Linked DNA regions of Homo sapiens: region 2 is linked to region 1. The links are contacts of gene promoters, found by promoter capture Hi-C in blood cells and fetal thymus (Javierre and others, 2016). All regions are on one chromosome and are shown on one strand. Each heading gives the region's core, a stretch centred on a gene start or on the middle of the fragment in contact. The rest is flanking DNA. Distances are from core to core; before and after follow the strand shown. Region 1 holds the start of MTHFD2 (methylenetetrahydrofolate dehydrogenase (NADP+ dependent) 2, methenyltetrahydrofolate cyclohydrolase). Region 2 holds the start of EGR4 (early growth response 4).

What was found. The method cuts DNA at HindIII sites, captures the fragments that hold promoters and counts their contacts. A CHiCAGO score of 5 or more calls a contact.
Region 2: the fragment with the promoter of EGR4 here is called in contact with the fragment with the promoter of MTHFD2 in region 1 in 1 of 17 cell types (fetal thymus); the score reaches 5.1 in fetal thymus.

What each region holds. Positions count from the first base shown.
Region 1 is chr2:74,196,288-74,200,242 of GRCh38, reverse strand. It overlaps MTHFD2 (methylenetetrahydrofolate dehydrogenase (NADP+ dependent) 2, methenyltetrahydrofolate cyclohydrolase), which reads right to left and starts at 1,628. Exons shown (of 8, transcript NM_006636.4): 1 at 1,501-1,628. The coding sequence starts at 1,601. RefSeq lists silencers at 870-959, 1,090-1,369, 1,560-1,699 and an enhancer at 1,408-1,966. The HindIII fragment of the contact is 3,357 bases long and covers 1-3,226 here.
Region 2 is chr2:73,291,552-73,294,976 of GRCh38, reverse strand. It overlaps EGR4 (early growth response 4), which reads left to right and starts at 1,429. Exons shown (of 2, transcript NM_001965.4): 1 at 1,429-1,795; 2 at 2,196-3,425. The coding sequence starts at 1,660. RefSeq lists a silencer at 1,067-1,146 and an enhancer at 3,143-3,425. The HindIII fragment of the contact is 1,844 bases long and covers 70-1,913 here.

The DNA of each region.
Region 1 (3,955 bases), core at 379-2,878:
GGTCTGGTCCACAGTCACATGAGGCCAGCACTCAGGAAGAGGGAGAAGGGGAGAAAACACACAGTAACGAAACATGGGGGAGGTCAAGAGTCAGACCAGGGAAAACCCTGAAAGTCCCCTCCCACGTTTTCCTTCAAGAACTCATTGCTCCAACAAGCAGCGCCTTTGAAATATTTCTAACAGCATTTCCGCACTGACTGGAAATTACACGCGTGTTCTGCCCCTTGTCAGGAACATGAGCTCCATTAAGAACAGTTTTTCTCATCTTTGAATTCGCACAGCTTGGCATAGTGTCTGGTACACAGTGAACGTTAGATGAAAAAAAGAAGGGGCTGATGTTGTAAGGTGCAGGGCTCTAACAATGCCAACAATGCCAGCGCTCTAATGACCGACCAAATCACCTTCCCAAGGAAACCCAAAAATGCAAACAGAGCTTTTCCTTTCCTCCTCCCCTGTATATTTTTCCCAATTTTGTTATTGTGGTAAAATTCACATAACATAAACCTTATCAACTTTTTTTTTTTTTTTTTTTTTTGAGACAGGGTCTCGCTCTGTCGCCCAGACTGGAGGGCAGTGGTGCAATCACGGCTCACTGCAGCCTCGAACTCCTGGGCTCAAGCGATTCTCGTGCCTCAGCCTCGGCGCGTGTCACCACGCCCGGCCCATCTTAACCATTTTTAAGTGCAGTTCAGTGGTATTAAATACGTTCATATGTTGTGCAACCATCACCACCATCCATCTTCAGAACTCTTCATCTTGTAAAACTGAAATTCTGCAAGTACCGCTGAAATATGGGTACTTGTCACTCTCCATTCCCCCTTTCCCTAAGGCCCTGGGAGCCTCCCGGATGTTTGCCACCTCTATGTACGCAGCCCGGCACTGACAGGCTCTGGTGGGCTGCAGCCAAAGCTAGGGTGCCCAGAGTCCGTTCATGTTCCTGGCAGAGCGGAGGCAGCGCGGGCCACTCCCACCGGCGGAGGGAGGAGGGCGGCGCGGGGACCCCGAGCAAGTCGGCTCCGCGATTTCATCAGCTGCAGCAGCGCCCTCCGCCGCTAGGGTCCCCGCAAGGACAACTCGCCGAGGGCTGCTCTTTTGGAACCCTCGCCTGTTCTCCCCCAGACGACTCTCAGCATCCCAGCCAGAGGCGGCCGGCGCTGTCGGAAGGCTCCGCGTAAACTGATGCCTTCGCGTTCCGCACGCCACCCCCGTCCCGCCCGCCGACTGGCCACGGGCCCCGGCGACGCCCCGAGTCGCAGGAGAGCGGCTCCCTCCGAAAGGCGGGCTTCGGGTACCAGCCCTCCGCGCCGAGGAAGCGCCCCAGTCGAGAGCTGCGGCGGCGCTCGGTGCCACGTCGCCCCGCCACACCCCTCAGCGGCCACCACCGCCGGGGCGGAGATGTTCGGGAAGGACTTCCCTCGGTGTCCCTCGGGGGCCCGGCGTGCCCCTCGCCCTCCGTTCCCCTCAGCTTTCCGCGCTGACCGAGCTCTGTGACCCTCTTACCGAACTGCCGCGAGGTGGAAAGGGCGAAGGCGAAGGGAGCAGCTGTGCGCGGGCTGCAGCAGCCGGGCAGCCAAAGCAGACATTAGAGAAGTCGCAGCCATAGACCGCGCCGGTGACTGCGCCGGGAGGGAAGCGCGCGCGCGGGCCACGCGGTTATACTGCGGCCTCGTGGCAGGCCCCGCCTCCCTCCGCCACCCATTGGTCCCTGCCGCATGCCACTGGCTGTCTGTTGAGCCAGGTGGAGCCGAAGGGGCCAACCGGTTTTCTTTATTAAACGTAAGCGAAGTCCGAAAGAGCCCTGCTTTTGATTGGAGCCAGAAGAGCCTGGAGCGAGGTCCTGTAAGGCGCTGAAGCCTCGGCAACGTGCCATGATAGGCTGAGGAAGTCAAACTCCTGCCTGACGCCGCTAGTGTCACCGAAGGCCGGACAACACAAGAGAAAAGTTCATTCATTCATTCGTTGAACAATTATATGAGCGCCTACTGTGTGCCAAGCACTGTAAAGGGTGGATGAAAAGACAAGCTGATAGAATGCCAACGAACAGAAGTAAAAGGAATGATGGAGTTAGAAAATCACCATTTTCCAAAATCAGTACATGGTGGCGCGTGACTACAGTACCAGCTACTGGGGAGGCTGAGGTGGAAGGATCACCTGAGTTCAGGAGGTTGAGGCTGCAGTGAGCTGAAGGCGCGCCACTGCACTCCAGCCTGGGCGACGAGAGTGAGACCATATCTCAAAACAACAACAAAAAAAGTAAAATCATAAAAGATATTCAGAGACAGACGTCAGGGTTGCATGTGCAACCCTGATTCAGAAGCAGCAATAGATGTCAAAACAACTGGGTGAAAGTTGGATGAGGAGCAAGATATTTACATATAGGGTTGCCAGATCTAGCAAATAAAAACACAAGATGCCCAATCAAATCAGAATTTTAGATAAACACTTTGGGAGGTCATATTTATACTTTATTTATGGCTTATCTGGAATTCAGATTCAACTGGGCTTCCTGTATTTTTTCCCGCAAACTTTTTGCATAGTCTCAAAGTATCTCTCCCGCAAGGAAACTTAAGGAGGGCAGGGCGCGGTGGCTCACTTCTGTAATCCCCAGCTCTTTGGGAGGCCAAGGCGGACGGATCACCTGAGGCCAGGAGTTCGAGACCAGCCTGGCCAATGTGTTGAAACCCCCGTCTCTACTAAAAACACAAAAAATTATCTGAGCATCGTGGCGGACGCTGTAATCCCAGCTACTGGGGAGACTGAGGCATGAGAATCGCTTGAATCTGGGAGGCAGAGGTTGCAGGGAGCCGAGACTGTGCCACTGCACTTCAGCCTGGGCAACAAAAAGACTCTGTCTCAAAAAACAAAACAAACAAACAAAGAACAGGGGAAACCAATCCTGTCAACACCTTGACCTTTACTTCTAGCCTCCAGGAAGGAAAGGAAAATGGTAAATTTACAGTGAAGAAACATGACAGTTACTGCTTCAACCACGTGATCAAAGTTAGCACCACCCAGTAAGGGAACACACATATATGCCTTCTGATAGGATCCATTGAGGAGACACATCACTTCGTAGCTCTTAACAAGTCTGTAAATTTAATAAGGTGATTTTCCTAAACCAATGAGTCTCCTAAAAACGGTTACAGATTCCTCATTTCACATTGAGAAGAAAGATCACAGACCTAGAATGTTAAAACTGTCCAGGAAAAAAAACAGTTGTAAAGCTTTGGAACACACTAGTAGATCTTAATCTATTCACAAGGAAATATCAGACAAGCCCAAAGTGAGAGATATTCTACAAGATAAATTGCTTGTACTCTTGACAGCTCCAAGGCCATGAAAGACAAAGAATGAGAAACTGTTCTCCATTAAAGGAGCCTAGGCATGACAGCTAAATGCTGTTTGATTCTGGATTGGATTCTGGACCCAAAACTTTTTGTCTTTCTTTTTTTCTCTTTCTTGCTTCTTTTTTTCTCTCTTTTGCTATAGATGACATTATAGGACAATTGGCAAAATATGAATAAAGTCTGCAACTAGCTAATAGCATTTTATCAGTGTTAGCTAATCGCATGCAGTAATGTAAGAGAATATATTGCACTTGCTTCTAGTACTAAAGGACCATGTCTGTAACTTACTTTTGAATAGTTCAGAAAAAAATAATGCTTTGTATGTATAAGTTGGCTAGGGCTGCCATAACAAAATAACACAGACTGAGTCATTTAAACAACAGAAATGGGCTGAGTGCAGTGGCTCACGCCTGTAATCCCAGCACTTTGGGAGGCTGAGGCAGGCGGATCACCTCAGATCAGGATTTTGAGACCACCCTGGCCAACATGGTGAAACCCTGTCTCTACTAAAAATATAAAAATTAGCCAGGCATGGTTTCACATGCCTGTAATCCCAGCTACTTGAGAGACTGAGGCAGGAGAATTGCTAGAATCCAGGAGGCCGACGT
Region 2 (3,425 bases), core at 180-2,679, 910 kb after region 1:
AGAATGAGAGAATGAGACAGAGGGAAAACCACAGCAGAAGAGAGATGAGACTAGGAGAGTAGGCAAGCTTCTTTGCTGGAGTTGGCTCTGATGCTTCTGCAGCCAAGATTCACAGCCTCCTTAAGGCTAGGATTTTTTTTTTTTTTCTCAAAAGAAGCCCAATTATTTCAAGTACTGATTCCAGGGAGATATTTCCCACGGATTCCCTGTGTGTTGCTGGGATCAACATCCTTAGAGCGAAAGCCATTTGTATGAAGGCAGAAAAAATGTTCTGCAGAAGCATCTCATACCCTGTGGGTGAGGGAGGAGTGAGCAGGAATTGGCCCTACTTTTCTGGAAGACAATTTGCCAGTTGTCTATCAAAATTTTACATATACTTTGGCACACAATTACACTCGTTGGAATTTATCTCACAGACACATTCACATTTATATAGTCAAGGATGTTGACTCCAACAACATTGGTATAAGTAAAAAGTTGGAAACTGCCTACATGCTCATGGATAGGGGACAAATCGACTAACTCAAGGTCCTCCCTTACAATGGAGTACTATACAGCCTTGAAAAAGAATGACAAGATCTTTATGTCAGGACATGGCACAATCTCTAAGTTATTTCAAGTGAAAAAATAATAATAATAATAATATTGCAGAACAATGTGTATGGTTGGATATACATAAAATTCTTCTGAAAGAATACCCAAGAAACTTAAATGTGGCTACCTCAGGAGCTAGGAATGAAGGTAGGTGGAGAGGAGGGACTTTTACTTTTCAATTTAGAATATACCCTGTTGTGCTAGTTGACTTTCCTCCTACTGTTAACAAGTATTACAGTCCTTTTTAATTTAAATTATTTTTCCTAGCACAAATTTAAAAAAAAAAAACTTAAAATGGAAAAACACACAGGCGTGAGCAAAAGAAATGAATGGCAATAATCTCTGTGGTTTACTGAGTGCGCCTGGACATTTATGTGCTCTCAGTTTCTCTCCACAGGAAATGCACAGGTGAGAAACTGACGTTAAGGGGGACTGAGTGTCAAGCTAGTTAGTGGCAGAGGGCAGATTCAAACCCAACACGGTCCTCCCCTGCTGCCCCTCGGCCTCTGCCTCCAGGTGGGAAGCGCATCTACCGGACGGTCGGCCCGGTGAGGCGCAGCGCCCCAGACTGGCGCATCCGCGGCCCCAGCGCTCCACGCCTGGGGAGCGCGCGCGCACGCAGCGGCGCGAGCCTGGCGGCGGCGGCGACAACAACAACGTCACAGCTCGAGCTTTCCTTTTCGGGAGTCCCCGGCACACATCCTGTGTCCATGTTTGGGCATTTACGTCACGGCGGCAGGGCCGGGGCCTCCCAAAATGGCAGTGGCCCGGGGAGTCGGAAGCCCGGAGCCAGCGCCGCCGCAGCTATATAAGTGGGGGGGCTGTGGGCTGGGGGAGCCCGGCAGCGCTTTGGAGAGGCGAGGAGCCGCCGCCCGAGGCCGGTGCGGGCGAGCGAGGGCGCCGCGGCTCCCCGACTCCTTTCCCAGAGGTGAGTGCCCGAAGCCAGGAGCCCGGGCGCCTAGGTCTGTGCGCTGCGGGGAACCCCTACCGCCAGCCTCCCCGCCACCCGCGCGCCCCCAAGCCCAGCGGGCGAGGCCCCGGGCGCCCCACAGCCGGCGCCGCGCCATGCTCCACCTTAGCGAGTTTTCCGAACCCGACGCGCTCCTCGTCAAGTCCACTGAAGGCTGTTGCGCCGAACCCAGCGCTGAATTGCCCCGGCTGCCTGCCAGGGACGCTCCCGCGGCCACCGGCTACCCTGGAGGTAAGGAGGGCGAGCAGGGGTGCTCAGACGACGACGGCGCAGCGCGGGGGCGCACCATACCTGAGAACCAGGAGGGACTGGGACATTGGAGCTATGAGAATAGGGGCGATGGGAAGCTTAGGAGTCCTGGGGTGCGCACCCCCATTCCCACCCACACTGGGCCGCCAGCGCCTCCGCAGGAACCTGTGCGGTTATCGGAGCGCCCTTTTGCCTGTGCACGTGTGTTTTGCGTGTGCATGTTTCTATGTGCTCCTTGGGACGTATGCGGGCCCCTGCTGAATCAGAATGTGCAAAAGGCACTTTGTGTATATCCGTGGGCACCAAGAGTTTTGTAGGTAGGGGCTGTGGACTCAGGTGCACCCTTTGATGTGCCCAGAGCTGATTCCTGCTCCCTCCTCAGCAGGCGACTTCTTGAGCTGGGCTTTGAACAGCTGCGGCGCAAGTGGGGACTTAGCCGACTCCTGCTTCCTGGAGGGGCCTGCGCCCACACCCCCTCCCGGCCTCAGCTACAGCGGTAGCTTCTTCATTCAGGCAGTGCCCGAACACCCGCACGACCCGGAGGCACTCTTCAACCTCATGTCGGGCATCTTAGGCCTGGCACCCTTCCCCGGTCCAGAGGCAGCAGCGTCCAGATCCCCGCTGGATGCCCCTTTTCCTGCGGGGTCCGATGCCTTGCTGCCGGGTCCGCCGGACCTTTACTCCCCGGATCTGGGCGCTGCCCCTTTCCCAGAGGCGTTCTGGGAGGCCTCGCCTTGCGCGGGTGCCCCCTCGCAGTGCCTGTATGAGCCTCAGCTCTCCCCGCCCGACGTCAAGCCCGGCCTCCGGGCGCCTCCCGCCTCGCCAGCGCTGGACGCTGTCTCTGCCTTCAAGGGTCCCTACGCGCCCTGGGAGCTGCTTTCTGTGGGGGCCCCAGGGAACTGTGGGTCACAGGGAGACTACCAGGCCGCCCCGGAGGCTCGTTTTCCCGTAATAGGGACCAAGATTGAGGACTTGCTGTCCATCAGCTGCCCTGCGGAACTGCCGGCCGTCCCAGCCAACAGACTCTATCCCAGCGGGGCCTATGACGCTTTCCCGCTGGCCCCGGGTGACTTAGGGGAGGGGGCTGAGGGCCTCCCTGGGCTCCTGACCCCTCCTAGTGGGGAGGGAGGGAGTAGCGGCGACGGCGGAGAGTTTCTGGCCAGTACGCAGCCTCAGCTTTCCCCGCTGGGCCTTCGCAGCGCCGCCGCGGCGGACTTCCCTAAACCTCTGGTGGCGGACATCCCTGGAAGCAGTGGCGTGGCTGCACCACCCGTGCCGCCGCCGCCGCCCACCCCTTTCCCCCAGGCCAAGGCGCGACGCAAGGGGCGCCGCGGCGGCAAATGCAGCACGCGCTGCTTCTGCCCGCGGCCGCACGCCAAGGCCTTCGCTTGCCCGGTGGAGAGTTGTGTGCGGAGCTTTGCGCGCTCCGACGAGCTCAATCGCCACCTGCGCATCCACACGGGCCACAAACCCTTCCAGTGCCGCATCTGCCTCCGCAACTTCAGCCGCAGCGACCACCTCACCACGCACGTGCGCACCCACACCGGCGAGAAGCCTTTTGCTTGCGACGTGTGCGGCCGCCGCTTCGCGCGCAGCGATGAGAAGAAACGGC